Regions from separate parts of the Homo sapiens genome. Here region 1 is linked to region 2. Evidence: promoter capture Hi-C in 16 types of primary human blood cells and fetal thymus (Javierre and others, 2016). All regions are on one chromosome and are shown on one strand. Each heading gives the region's core, a stretch centred on a gene start or on the middle of the fragment in contact. The rest is flanking DNA. Distances are from core to core; before and after follow the strand shown. Region 1 overlaps NEIL3 (nei like DNA glycosylase 3). Region 2 holds the start of VEGFC (vascular endothelial growth factor C).

Evidence for each region. Contacts are between HindIII fragments. The CHiCAGO score rates a contact against its expected background, and 5 or more counts as called.
Region 1: a fragment that was not itself captured here is called in contact with the fragment with the promoter of VEGFC in region 2 in 1 of 17 cell types (endothelial precursors); the score reaches 5.7 in endothelial precursors.

The regions. Positions count from the first base shown.
Region 1 is chr4:177,319,823-177,327,388 of GRCh38, reverse strand. It overlaps NEIL3 (nei like DNA glycosylase 3), which reads right to left. Exons shown (of 10, transcript NM_018248.3): 2 at 4,809-4,930. Among named protein-coding and RNA genes, the nearest start is that of NEIL3, 14 kb to the right of the region's middle. The HindIII fragment of the contact is 430 bases long and covers 4,114-4,543 here.
Region 2 is chr4:176,790,450-176,797,992 of GRCh38, reverse strand. VEGFC (vascular endothelial growth factor C) reads left to right here and starts at 5,071. Exons shown (of 7, transcript NM_005429.5): 1 at 5,071-5,828. The coding sequence starts at 5,682. The HindIII fragment of the contact is 3,942 bases long and covers 1,987-5,928 here.

The DNA.
Region 1 (7,566 bases), core at 3,079-5,578, 530 kb before region 2:
ACTGCTTTAATTCACAGATGATATGATTATCTACATAGAAAATACTAAAAGTATACAAGAAAAAGCGACTAGAACTATAACGAGTTTAGCAAGTGTATTAGTCTGTTTTTACACTGCTGTAAAGAACTTCCCTGAGACTGGATAATTTATAAAGGAAAGAGGCTTAATTGACTCGCAGTTCCACATGGTTTGGGAGGTCTCAGGAAACTTACAATCATGGTGGAAGGTGAAAAGGAAGCAAGGACCTTCTTCAGATGGCAGCAGGAGAGAGAAGAGAAAGAGAAGGGGGAAGAGCCCCTTATAAAACCAAGAGATCTAGTGAGAACTCACTCACTATCACAAGAACAGCATGGGGGAAACAGCCCCCATGATCCAGTCGCCTCTTTCCCTTGACACAAGGGGATTACATGCCCCCCCACACCTCGACACATGGGAATTACAATTCAAGATGAAATCTGGGTGGGAACACAGAGCCAGATCATATCAGCAAGGTTGCAGGATACAAGGTCAATATACACACAAAAATTGTATTTCCATACACTGCAAATGAACAATTAGAAATTCAAATTTTAAAAAAGTACCCTTTACAATAGCTCCAAAAAAACCCACTTAGTTACAAATATAAAATATGTCTGAAGCTGAAAATTACAAAATACTGATAAAGAAATGAAGGAAGATCTAAATACATATTAATATATACTGTGTTCATGGAGTGGAAGACAATAATGTTAGCATGTGAATTATCACCTAATTGATCTATAGATCCAACACAAGGCCAATCAAAATGCCAGAAAGAACTCTGTAGAAATCAACAAGCTAAGTCTAAAATGTAGAAAGATAACTAAAACAACAAAAACAATTTTGAAAAAAAAAAAGAATAAAGTCAGACGACTGACACTACTTAATTTAAACTGACTTTAAAGCTACTTTAATTAAGACAGTGTATTATTGGTGAAAGGACAGACACAAAAAATGATAAAAGAATATCACTTTATCTGATATTCTTCTGAATGCAGAGTTCAGAAATAGACCCATACATATATGGTCAACTAATTTTCAACAAAGTTGCAAAGAAATTCAATGGAGAAAGGATAATCTCGTCAACAATGGTGCTGGAAAATACACACGCAAAAAGACAAAGTCCAGCTCCTGCCTTGTACCATATACAAAAAAGAACTCAAAATAGATCATAATCCTAAACAGAAGAGCTAACTCAATAAAACTTCCAGAAGAAAACAAACAAGGAAATGTTGATTAATTTGCATTAGGCAGATGTTTCTTAGACTGGTCACAAAACGTATGAATGAACCATGAAAAAAAAATTTGATAAATTAGGTTTCATCAAACTTAAAAGTTTTTAATCTTGAAGAGATATGGTTAAGAAAATGAAGAGAAAAGCCATAGATTGGGAGAAAATACTTGCAAAACATGTTATCTGATAAATGACTGACATCTAGAATATATACAGAATACTATAACTCAATAATACAAAAATATATCCAATAAAAAAGGAAAACATTAATAGACACATCACCCTATAAAATACACAAACAGGAAATATGCATATTGCATCAGATATCATTAGTTAGTAGGGAGAAGAAAATTAAAATCATAGTGAGATACACTGTACACCTATTAGAATAGCTGAAATTAACACAACTGACAATACCAGGTGCTGGCAAAGATGCTGAGTAACTGAAATTCTCATACTCTGCTGGTGAGAATGTAAAATGGTACCACCACTTTTAAGAACAGTTTGGCAATTCCTCTTAAAGTCAAACATATGCTTACCAAATGACTTAGAATTTCTAAGTCATTTGGTAATTTATCCAAGAGAAATGAAAATGTATGTCCACATATATATGTCATATGTATGTGAATATTCATAGCAATTTTATTCACAATATTAAAAACTTGAAACAATCCAAATGTCCATCATCTGATGAATGAATTAACAAAATATGGTATGTTCATACAATGGGAGACTACTTAGTAAAAGAAAAGAAAGTACCACTGATACTTCAAACAGTATGAATGAATCTTAAAGTATTATACAGAGTAAAAGTACACTTCTATTTCTCCTAACATGTTATATGATAGTACAGAAACTATGTTGAAGCTGTAAAACTCTTTTATAAGTAATATATGATGGATTCAATAAAGACATTTCAGCAAACTAAAAAGAATCATTATATTATCTCTTGCATAACTGGTTTGAGGTTCATACTTAAACCCCAATAAATTATAAAATCAATCATGTATAAGGCATTTCTAAAATGGCAAAGCCTCCAAAATATCTCAGATATAGTTTCTGGTCTCTGAGCACATATAACTTCAAAAGCCAGAGTCATGTAAATCACAAACTGGAAACAGAAAATGGTCTTGGAAAAATATATTTACTTATCTATCTATCTATCTATCTATCTATCTATCTATCTGTTTTTTAAATTTTAGTCCAAAATGCAACAGCTATGTCCATTTTGATTAAAATGATAGCTTCAGTGTGAGTGCAGCTGGGTGAACATGCATATAAACATTCGCACACACTATACTGGCAATGTGGCATTGTATGCATCCAAAGTTAATAAAGATTACACCTGGTAGTGGGATTGAGAATGTATTACTTTACACTTATTTTCATTATTTTTCAGTTTTCTCTACTGAGTACTTGTTACATTTGTAGCAAAAACTTCAAGTGACGTTTGTGTTGTTTTAGTTGAAGAGTTAGTGGAAAGTGTTCAGAAGTTGTACAGGTATTAATCACACATAACACAATAGTGCTCCTAAAATAAATGTGTATCAAATAATTTTTAGTATTCCTTGGCACTATCAGGAGCACTTGAATATATCACTTAGTAGGTAGAGAAGTAATCACTCTCTAATTTGTATCTTTCTGATGTGTGGATTTTTACAGGGCAGATTCTTTTAGAGGCTATGCTCGTATTCTACTTTCATTAACAAATGAATCCCAGGAGATTCAACCAATGAATCCCAGGAGATTCATGGCCCAACCTATGAGATGCACACACTTTATGACTAAACTCTGCGGGCAATTTTGCTTGTGAAAAGTTGGGTATCAAGGGAAAACTGTGAGCAACCTTTGAAAGTGTTTCCTGCTATATGCTCTATCAAATGCAGATGAGCCAGGTGGGTGGGAGGCAGAAGTCAAAAATGAAGACTACATTTCTATTGCAGGTGCACAGACCTGCAGCCTCACAAAAAGATCACATTTCTTTGAGAGAGTTATCCATTCCTCTAAGAAGCACAGGTTGGAAGTACATTTTTTGAACTTCTGTTACATTGTGAAAAGAGGGGCAAATGATTTTAGGTTCAGATTCCAACAGCAGATCTGCCATTGACCTTGAATTGTTACATCCAATAGTTGTTATGGCTGCAGGAAACTGAAAGGAAGCAAGCCACTGCATTTTTCCCACCCATATACTGACATAGGTACTCTCCAGGGAGGGCACTAGTTCAATGAGTTTGAAGAAGTGATTGTCCTTGTTTAGAACTTCATGGAACACTTACTGACAGCCGTGTGCTGAGAAATGACTTCCCCCTTATCAGTCTGGTGGAGAGCACTTGATAAAAACCCCCTCTCATCTTACAGAAATAAATCTGTACCTAACACCAGAGAATCAATAACATATCAATGTTTTCAACTATCGTGCATAGATCCCATTGTGTACTACTCTATCCAGAGCTATGAGTTTTCCATCACATCAGTCTACTACAGCAGCAGTGTAACCTGCAATATATCATTACTGCATGAACAACTAGGCATATGCTGATGTTATCAATTCCAGACTAAGCAAAACCATGAAGTGACAATGTTGTCCAAGGACAGCAGCTGCTGACAATGAAAAGAGAACACCTCAAAGGAAAAGCAATTACATAAACCCTGGATTACTCTAAATATGTGGTAGATGAGATGCAATAAAGAACAATCATATAGTATCATCTCTTTGTGACAATTATTCACCTTTGGTTAGCATGGGGTCCAGGAACAGGTCTTTTCTTTTAAGAAAAAGGTGATAACTGTGGTCAGTATCTTTAAACAGCACTAAAAACGATTTGAGGAAGCAGTATCAATTTTTACAGTTGGCAAAAGCTTAGGCTAAACTCAGAAAAGACAGAATGAGATTGGGTAGACATATTAACTCAAAGGCCGCTTTCATTTTCCTGCAAAAATTAAACATGTGATCATGCATCACAATTACATATATTTTGACTTTTTTATCATTAAGTCAACAAAGGAAATAGGTTGCTAGTCCTTCTCTGCCAGTATATTAGCCATGAATTTCCATGGGAACTGTGAAACAATGGAGAACCTGTTATTTCTCTGGAAAGTTTTTACACTCTCTAAGTAAATTTCCAAATTCCATTCAAGGCTTCAGAGAAAGCAGGAAGCCAGAAAAATATTTAAAGATCAAGTGATACATTTAAACCAAACTAGGGCCTGTCACAAATATAAAGTAACCGATGTCACTGAATACAATAAGCATTCGGTAAAAACAAGGAGAGACTTGTGGTATAGGAAGCTTGGGGACTAGCAAAACAGATGTGTTGCTCTAATACATCTTGGGAAGCCCTGTAAAATGACTGTCTTCCAAGTGATGATGACATCAGAATTTATTCTTCTGCTGTTTATTGATTTCCATGATAGAATCACAACCTCTCATATTGGAGCTCTCTTAAAAACACAGTACTTCCTATATGATTAAATGTGACACCCGGCAAACTCCATCTAGCCTTCTACGCATCTTTAAATATAGAGAGATAAGATGTATCGTACAGGCTTATCTTACCGTAAAGCTTTTGGTCCAAAGTACATAAAGAGCTCCTTCCCCAAAGTTTCCACGCCACTGTAAACATATCCATTAAACAGGCTCAAGACATTCTGGCTGGAATCATTATTCAGTGCAGCAGCCTAGTGGAAAATACATGTACACACATAAGCACACACACACACAAACTCTAAGCAAAAGCATTATTTAATTCTTAAATGTGTTTATATTACTTCACGCCCAGGTGCATTCCAATGAGAAGAATAATCTCCAACAAGTCATGTAATGTAATCGGCTGTTTACATACATTTTGTCAAATCACTATGCAGTCATTTAAAGAGAGAGAGGCCAAAAAAATTAAGTGAAAAAAAGTAATTGGTAGACAAGCAAAATAAAGTTTCTTCCAGGACCATATAGCTCTGTGCATATGAAAAGAAAGCATAGGAATACAACACGAATGTTCTAAAACTAAAAACTGGAATATAGGTTCTTCCATTTCCAGAAGTATATAGCCAAGTTCCCTGAAAGAGTGGTCAGATAAAAACAGCTACAAATGACAGATGATAAAATATGAAAACAAAATATTTTTAACTTCACCGATGAACTTTTAAGCTAGTATGAAATAATAAAAGGTCAAAAACTAAAAGCGGGAGAGAACCCTGAGAGGTAGTAGGGAGAGCTGTGAAGCCAGCATCTATCCTAAGGGCATTGATTGAAACTAAGGAATGAGAGCTTCAATTTTCACATGAAACTAAGGAATGAGAGCTTCAATTTTCACATCTTGTGAGGGTGCAGGAGATCAGAGATAAAAACCTGCGGCCCCCTGAGTAGGGGAATCTAATTTGAGACCTGTCCTATTCCAAGCACAATGTTAAGAATAAAGAAAAAATAAACTCATATTCCCTTTCCCCCATCAGCCTTGCAAAACCAAACAATATATTGTTAGAATGACAACATATAGGCAGAATCCTATAAGATATTCGAGGAAATTATAAACATGAATTAAACAGAAAACAAAAATATAAAATGTAGGTTCTTCTGTGGGAGAAGAAAAGAAAGGGCGTTTGGTTTAGATTTTAGTAATGCCCTTTTTCTTAAACTGAGCATTATGTATACTGGTGTTTCTTATGTCATTATTTTTTATTATTTATATATGTTTTATAAACATTATTTAATTTAAACTCAAAATGTAATAAAAATGTAAAACTTAAGACATGCGTAATTATTATATAAGATAAAATAGGGTACACAGAATTACATCTACGCATTAACTCAGTCTAAGGTAATATCCTCATTTACCTCTAACTTCTTTTGTGTTTTTCTCAAATGGGCCTAAGGATCCTCAGAAGATTCTGAACGAAACCTTGGTGGGCAGTGGGAGTGGGGAAATGTCAAGATATAATTATAAAACAGCTTTAGATACAGAGTCTAGAAACAAGTCACAATTTTTCCTCAATTTAGAGTGAAATGATATTGTTCAGTGATTCTCAAACTTTTGATTTTACAGACATTTGTCATTCTAAATGCTTAAGATGACATGTCCACTCTATTCTTTATTTCACTAAATTGGTCTTTGTTAAGATACAATCACAGTACTTAGCTCAAAGAGAGATAACAGGGAGATAAAGAAAAAAAAAAAAAAGAGACAGACACTATTCTTCCACTAAACCCATTCAAGGTTGAAATAGCTACAGTCAATGCCAGAATTTTCCAACTGCCTGAAGTTCAGGCGACTGGCTTTATATATCCCTCCTTTGTTTAAGAACTGGAGAATCAATCACTGGCTTAGAATGACAGATAAATTAAATGCACAGGAGTAATTAAAAATGACAGCAGGCCCGGCGCGGTGGCTCACGCCTGTAATCTCAGCACTTTGGGAGGTCGAGGCGGGCGGATCACGAGGTCAGGAGATCGAGACCACCGTGAAACCCTGTCTCTACTAAAAATACAAAAAAAATTAGCCGGGCATGGTGGCGGGCGCCTGTAGCCCCAGCTACTCGGGAGGCTGAGTCAGGAGAATGGCGTGAACCCTGGAGGTGGAGCTTGCAGTGAGCCGAGATCACGCCACTGCACACCAGCCTGGGAGACACAGCGAGACTCCGTTTCAAAAAAAAAAAAAAAAAAAAAAAAAAAAAGACAGCAGTCACTTCCTGTTCTGCACAAATCACAAAAAAAGAACCTGTTGGAGACTGTAGGTATATGCCACCATGTCCTCAAAGCTCAGTCTTTGGTTGCCCTTTCTGGGATGAACTCTAGTACCTATCAATAATTATCAAGCACTGGGAAGGCAGGCTTGAGTACTCAGTGAGGAAAAAACACATTTGCCTTCTTTTTATATAAGTCAATCTTTTAGAGCCCTGAATTGACAAACACCAAGAATCTTGATGCTTTTCTCCTTAACAGGAGACTTTAAGTCACTTAAATACACTTCAGGCCAAGTATAGATTACAATAGTGGGTTTTAAGGTAGGTTTCCATGACAACCAATTAGTATGTAAAAAGTTCCTATAAACTTGCCAGGACACTTTTAAGATGATGATATACAAAGCAGATATAGATCTTTGTCTCAATATAGATTAGGTTGTACATTTTCAGGATCTCAGATTTAAGTTCTTACTAACATTTTAAACCCACATTTATAAGTCAATGGTGAGAGCCTTGTTTCCCCACCACTCCAATGTCAACAATCTCTTATCTTTTTCCAACATTCTTTACTAGCAACTTGTTTTAGCCATACCCTGTGAAATTTTCTAGCTTTTCTTAGAGCTCCCAGCAGAGGC
Region 2 (7,543 bases), core at 3,822-6,321:
AAATTAAGCTGTTTAGACAGAGATACATAGTATCAGTTATAGTGCAAAATACATGTAGGAGGCAGGAATATGGCTTGGAGGGGATATGAACTTGGGTTTAATCTGAGACAAAGGCAAAATGATCTGGCAATGGGTGGTCAAATGAGTTGTTTGTGTACCTCATGCCCTTGGCTCCCCAAACTAAAGGTTAGGTAATCTCCAGTGGCAAATCTGATAAATGTGCAGTTTGGGAAGACGGAAAGTTTGACCAAGAGATCTCATTCAAAATCAGTGTCTCACAGACAAAACAAGACTTCAAATCGTTGTATAAGCTTTTGATAAAGTTTATGGCAATATCTGTCTAGTCAATACCAATCCTTCTGGGCATCTAGTCCCAAGGGATGGCTCAGTGAATTGACTTAACAGGACCCGTGCTTATTCTCTTTCTTATGAACTTCCTTTTTTTGACTCCCATGAGAAAATTATGAAGGCAGCAGGGATAAAAAGCAATAGTAATAAGGCAGATATCTATTGAGGATAAATTTGTTCAAGTCTGATCAAATAATCAAAGGGTTCTTGAAAGGAGATCTTTTAGCATTTGGTAGCTTGATAAAAAGAAACTGGGACTGAAATCTAACAGAAGACATAACCCTTCATTGCAGTCAGAGTGATTCCCCCCACCAAGCCAGGAAGCTCAAGAGGCCTCAGTGATTTGCACTATTTTTGAATTTAGGATCTTTGCTTGAGCTACTAGGGAGAAGGATTTCAATGGGACCTCCAAGTTGTTGTACACCCGAAAATATCAGTAGAAAAGTTTTCAATAAACAAAAGTTCCATTTAGCCGAACCTACAGCAGTAAGGGAGAGTGCCACCTGGACAGGGTCTTAGGGTGTCTTGGGTAAGTCAGAAGCAGAATAGTTGTAGAGCTTTGGAGTCTGGACACGAGTAGTTTAAGGTGGGTCTTTCAAAGTGGGGAATTGAGTAAGATTGGGCAACGTTCATGATCTAGTAGTTTAGGATCAGTTAACATCTGTAAGTGAGAGTTTGGGTAAGAAAACTGTCATTAATAAGCAGGCTGTTTACCAGAGTCAGAATATTATTATCTTCGATATATTGTTTTGCCAGCATTTCTTGAAGCAAACACTGAATTTAAATACTGGATTGCAGTCTTATCTTTTCCAGGCTAATGTTTCCTAGAAGAAACAACTAAGTCATGTGTACATAACTGGTTCATAGTTTTACCTAAGTCATGTTCACAGCTGATCTCAATTCTTAAAGCCTATGATTTTAATATCAGAAAAAGTAGAACTTCAAATAAAAATATCAGAAGTTAAAAAAATGACATTGTATACTACCAAGAAGAAAATTAGATCAAAATGATATAGTATCCCATTATGTTAAAAAATAACAGGAAGAACTACTGTCAGAAACAGAAAAACATGTCAACAATTATAACTGGAGATTTTAACGTCATTCCCAAACAAGATTTGAACATTATAATAAGCTCAAAATTAATACCCAACAAAAATAAAGCACACACAGAATTAGTTGCAATGATCAGCCATGTCCAGGACTACAAAGAAAGCCTGAATGCATTTCTAAAAGCAACATCATTTATAGCAAAAATTAAATATAATAAAATTAGAAATTGATAAAAATCATATATCCCTAAACTAAGAAAACACAAATAATTTGGGGGTTAAAAATATAAACAAATTAAGATATATTTGCAACTGTTTGCCAAAGGAAGCACTACGTATCAAAATTGAGAAATACAAGTAAAGCAGAATTTAGACAAAACTTGTATTTTATTGATCGACTGATTGATTGCAGAGATGGGGTCTTGCTGTGTTGCCCAGGCTGGTCTCAAAGTAACTTCAAGTGATCCTCCTTCCTCAGCCTCCCCAAATGCTGGGATTACAGATGTGAGCCACCACACATGGCCCGAAACTTGTATTTTTAAACTAAAAAGAAGAAAAATGAACTAAGCATTCAGCTAAAAAAGCTTGAAATGAAGCAACAAAGTAAAACTAACAAAGCAAGAAGGTAGGGAATAACAAATGAGAAATAAAGTAGATGGTCAGAATGGATATTAGAGAATGTACAATGGATATATTATCATCATTATTTTGCCATCCAAAACTATCATCTCCCATATCTACTTGGGAGGCTGAGGCAGGAGAATAGCTTGAACCCAGGGGTTGCAGTGAGCTGACATGGTGCCACTGTACTCTAACTGCACTCCAGCATGGGAGACAGAGCGAGACTCCATCTCAAACAAACAAACACACACACACACACACACACACACACACACACAGACACAAAACACAAAGAACAAAACCTATCATCAAAGAAAACAAAAACTCAATATGTAAAAGAGGTGTTATTCTGGCTGGGGCCCTGCTACCTCTCTTTCTCCACTGACTGAGCAATGCTTTTTGAATAACCAGATTTAGAAGACCTGTTGTAAAATAGGTCTTGCATGAAGCTAGTGATGAACTCACAAACCAGTGAAAAGGACTTTCTCAACCTTTAAAATCTGCTAGTGGCAAAAAGTGTTTCCAGGGGGTAAGGAAGAAAAAAAACCAAAAAGTCCTGAGCAACTATTCGTTTTTACCTTAAGACATTCTGTGTGTGTGTGTGTGTGTGTGTGTGTGTGTGTGTGTGTGTGTGTGTGTGTGTGTGTGTGTTTTAAGTAGAGACGGGGTTTCACCAACGTTTGAAAATATTTATCATGGTCTCCCTAAGATGGACGGTGTTAGCTAGGATGGTCTCGATCTCCTGACCTCATGATCCACCCGCCTCGGCCTCCCAAAGTGCTGGGATTACAGGCGTGAGCCACCGTGCCCGACCAACCTTAAGACAAACAACTACTGCATGATTGTTTTTGGAGACCTTTTTTTTATTCAAATAAACTTTTTGCCAGCATTTTCTGACTCAAAGTATAGCAGCAGGAAGATAACACTTTTGTGAGAAAAAAGTTTGAATACAGCTTACTGCTGTATTTAAATGAAACAGTAGTTAATATGATATTAATATATTTTGGATATATTTTGAGTTTGTTGATTTTCCAGTCTTCACCCGCTGCTAGGCCTGTGGGTGTTGGAAATGCCTGTGGTTCTCAATTTTGTTTGCCTATTAGAATCCTGATGTCCAAGCCTTACTCCAGTTAGACCAGTTAAGCCAGAAAGGCAGAAGGTGTACTCAAGCATCTGTTTTTTCAAAATCTCCTTTTGTGATGCCAAGTGCAATCAAAGTTTAGAATCATTGTAATAGCAAATGGTTGAATGGAAACTCCACCTTCTATTCAAATCCTACCCCAGTCTGCCCTTAGCTGTTCCCTTTTCACAGATCTATCAATGTCTGAAGATAACTATGGCAGGCTGATCAAATATGCATAGAGCAGGAAGACAGCAAGAGAGTGATACACTGACCATGTTCCAAATCACAAAACATCTCAACAGGCTAGATCATGGACCGAGTCTGATGGGATGGAATTTCATAAAGATACATAAAAAAGCATCTTGGATACAGTAAACTTAACTCCACAAATACAGGGGAATTTAGACGTGACTAAGTAGCAGTACATATGAAAAATTATTGAGGAATTTTGTTGACTTTAAGGGTAGTGTGAGTCAACACTGTGATTTGGCTGCCAGAAAATAAACTCAATCCAAGGCTGTATCAACAAAGGCATACTGTCCATTCTGCATGCTCATTACAGCACTAAGTACCGAGCCATGTTCTCAACCGCATACTTCATGAACATGGAAAGCTAACAGTATGGTTAAGGGGGGAAACTGGAACTGTCATCTTGGGGAATAAAAGGGATATTTAGCCAGGAGTAAAGTTAGCTTAGGGAGACCATGATAAATATTTTCAAAATATTTGAAGGACTCAGTTGTGGAAGTGAGATTAGATTTATTGTGTAAAACTCCAGGAGTCAAAAGCAATAGAGAGATAGAAGGAAATGCTTTTCAGCAGTGTTGCTCATCAATAAAGGGAGTGAACAGCCACACAGAATGGAAGGTTCCCTGTCCTTTGAGATATTTAAGCCTTCAAGTAAATTATGGGTGAGGAGTTTCAAATCTAGAGTTGAACCAGATAAGAAAGTCTCTTCTTCCGGTAAGATATTATGGACCTATAACATCTGTGTACTTAAAAGTAGATTGGGAGTGAAAGGCAGACTTTTGATGTTCTGTACACTGTTGAAACCCCTTAGCGTGGTCCTCTGTAACCTGCTCACCCTGCCCCAAGGAGGCAGCTAGCCAATGCCACCAGCCCAACGGAAACCCCAGTGCTTTTCCAATGGGGAAATGCAGTCACTTTTCTTTGGATGCTACACATCCTTTCTGGAATATGTCTCACACACATCTCTCTTTATCACCCCCTTTTTCAAGTAAACCAACTTCTTGCAGAAGCTGACAATGTGTCTCTTTACTCTCCACGAAGATTCTGGCCCTTCTCTTCACCTGTCAGAAGTTTAGGATTCCAAAGGGATCATTAGCATCCATCCCAACAGCCTGCACTGCATCCTGAGAACTGCGGTTCTTGGATCATCAGGCAACTTTCAACTACACAGACCAAGGGAGAGAGGGGACCCCTCCGAGGTCCCATAGGGTTCTCTGACATAGTGATGACCTTTTCTTGGAACTTTTACAACCCCCAGGACATTTCCAAACTTTGAGCAGGGCTCTGGGGGCCAGGCGTGCGGGAGGGAGGACAAGAACTCGGGAGTGGCCGAGGATAAAGCGGGGGCTCCCTCCACCCCACGGTGCCCAGTTTCTCCCCGCTGCACGTGGTCCAGGGTGGTCGCATCACCTCTAAAGCCGGTCCCGCCAACCGCCAGCCCCGGGACTGAACTTGCCCCTCCGGCCGCCCGCTCCCCGCAGGGGACAGGGGCGGGGAGGGAGAGATCCAGAGGGGGGCCGGGGGAGGTGGGGCCGCCGGGGAGGAGGCGAGGGAAACGGGGAGCTCCAGGGAGACGGCTTCCGAGGGAGAGTGAGAGGGGAGGGCAGCCCGGGCTCGGCACGCTCCCTCCCTCGGCCGCTTTCTCTCACATAAGCGCAGGCAGAGGGCGCGTCAGTCATGCCCTGCCCCTGCGCCCGCCGCCGCCGCCGCCGCCGCTCAGCCCGGCGCGCTCTGGAGGATCCTGCGCCGCGGCGCTCCCGGGCCCCGCCGCCGCCAGCCGCCCCGCCGCCCTCCTCCCGCCCCCGGCACCGCCGCCAGCGCCCCCGCCGCAGCGCCCGCGGCCCGGCTCCTCTCACTTCGGGGAAGGGGAGGGAGGAGGGGGACGAGGGCTCTGGCGGGTTTGGAGGGGCTGAACATCGCGGGGTGTTCTGGTGTCCCCCGCCCCGCCTCTCCAAAAAGCTACACCGACGCGGACCGCGGCGGCGTCCTCCCTCGCCCTCGCTTCACCTCGCGGGCTCCGAATGCGGGGAGCTCGGATGTCCGGTTTCCTGTGAGGCTTTTACCTGACACCCGCCGCCTTTCCCCGGCACTGGCTGGGAGGGCGCCCTGCAAAGTTGGGAACGCGGAGCCCCGGACCCGCTCCCGCCGCCTCCGGCTCGCCCAGGGGGGGTCGCCGGGAGGAGCCCGGGGGAGAGGGACCAGGAGGGGCCCGCGGCCTCGCAGGGGCGCCCGCGCCCCCACCCCTGCCCCCGCCAGCGGACCGGTCCCCCACCCCCGGTCCTTCCACCATGCACTTGCTGGGCTTCTTCTCTGTGGCGTGTTCTCTGCTCGCCGCTGCGCTGCTCCCGGGTCCTCGCGAGGCGCCCGCCGCCGCCGCCGCCTTCGAGTCCGGACTCGACCTCTCGGACGCGGAGCCCGACGCGGGCGAGGCCACGGTAGGTCTGCGTTAGGGTTTGCGGAGAACCCGAGAGTTTGCGTTAGGGTCTGCGGCGGACCCGAGAACCTGCGCGGGGGAAAGTGTGTGTGCTTTAAGCTTGTGTACGTGGGATCCAAAGTTACTGAGCTCAGTGCACGCTGCTTTGGAGAAAAATCTTCTTCTTTTTAAATAGAAAGTTGTTACTAGAGAGGCAAGCAAGTTACACGAGTGAAGGGCCCGGAGAGGTGCCCAGTGAGAGATCCCGAAATCTATTTCAGACTGGTTTCCTCTGGGGCAACCAAGGGGTCTTGAACCCTGCCCAGTCAGCGGGGCTCTGGAGAGTATGAGTTCATTTTGGTCGGGAAATGCTCGTTTCTTTCCCCAGCTGATTCATGGGACTCCAAACAGATTCTGGGACACTGGTGATCAGTCAACCCAGCCTTACTTTCCTGGAGTGTTCATAGTCTGCAGAGCACCAGGCGCTGTGAGCGACTTTAGAAAAAAAGTGTCAGGGACTTTAGTAACCAGGCTCCAGAGCTTTCAGAGTTCACTTGAAGTTGGTCAGACTTGAGATGTAACGGGAGATTAGAGTCAGTTAGATCACAATCAAGCAATGCAAGGCTTGTTTCAACTTTATAAGCTCTTCATTCCTAAAATCTGGTCATGAGATACTGCAAACTAAGTTTTTTTTTTTCTTGTTTGGGTTTTTTGTTTGTTTTGTTTTCTTTTAAATAAGAGGTGTTTAATCCTTTGCCTGAAAATGTTGCCAAAATACTTTTGAGGCATCCTGATTTTGAAAAAGGATTTGTGTGTGTTCCTACTTCTTACTGGCTCTTCCAAAAGAGTATATCTTTATCTAAAAAGTTCATACCTGCCATAACCATATAGAGTATGCTTAAGAGAGTTCCTAAAGAAGTTATATTCGACATTTCAGTTCAAACACTTGCAGTACCCCTTGCTGGAACTATACTGCGGTAGTTTATTTCAACTGGTGGCAAGTGGAGAGGTACCTGTGGTGTGTTACAGTCAACTTTAATTTGACTGTTGATTAACACATACACAATGTGTAGAAAATAGCCTTATATTTTGAAATATTTTATTTATATTTATATTTTGAAATACACTTAAAGATTGAGAAGACTAATTTTTGGAAATCAAACTACCTTTGCATTTAAATTTTGGGAAAACATTAAAATGTTGGAATGTGTAATAATTTAATATAGGGGTTAAAGGAATGCCTCTTGAGTAAAAACAATATACATGAAATAGAACAGACTGCATTCTGTGAATCACAAAAATAATTTTCAGTGCCTATACTTACATTGCCGTAACTATAGTGATGAAAATATCTTTCTGTTCTTAAATACCGCAGAAATGTAATAATCGGCTCAATAACGCTTCTGATAATTTGAGTCCTTGATTTTGCAGTACCTATTTGCTATTTCTGCAAAGTCAAAACTAGTAAAAGTATGATTTAGTAAGGCAACATCTCTGTATTGGTTACGGTCACTTACTTTGGTTTACAGTAAGAAAATGTGCAGTAGAGAGTAAAATGAGAAACATTCCCTGATAAGCCAATAGCCTGTATGAGAGTCACTCACTGCTGGGTGAGTCTAGAATTAATGTACCTTGAGTGTGTGTGTGTGTGTGTTTACGTGTGTTATGTATAGGTATGGGATTGGAGGATTAAAAAAGTTAACTTATTTTTAACTTTCAAAAGTGTCTTCGTTGGTG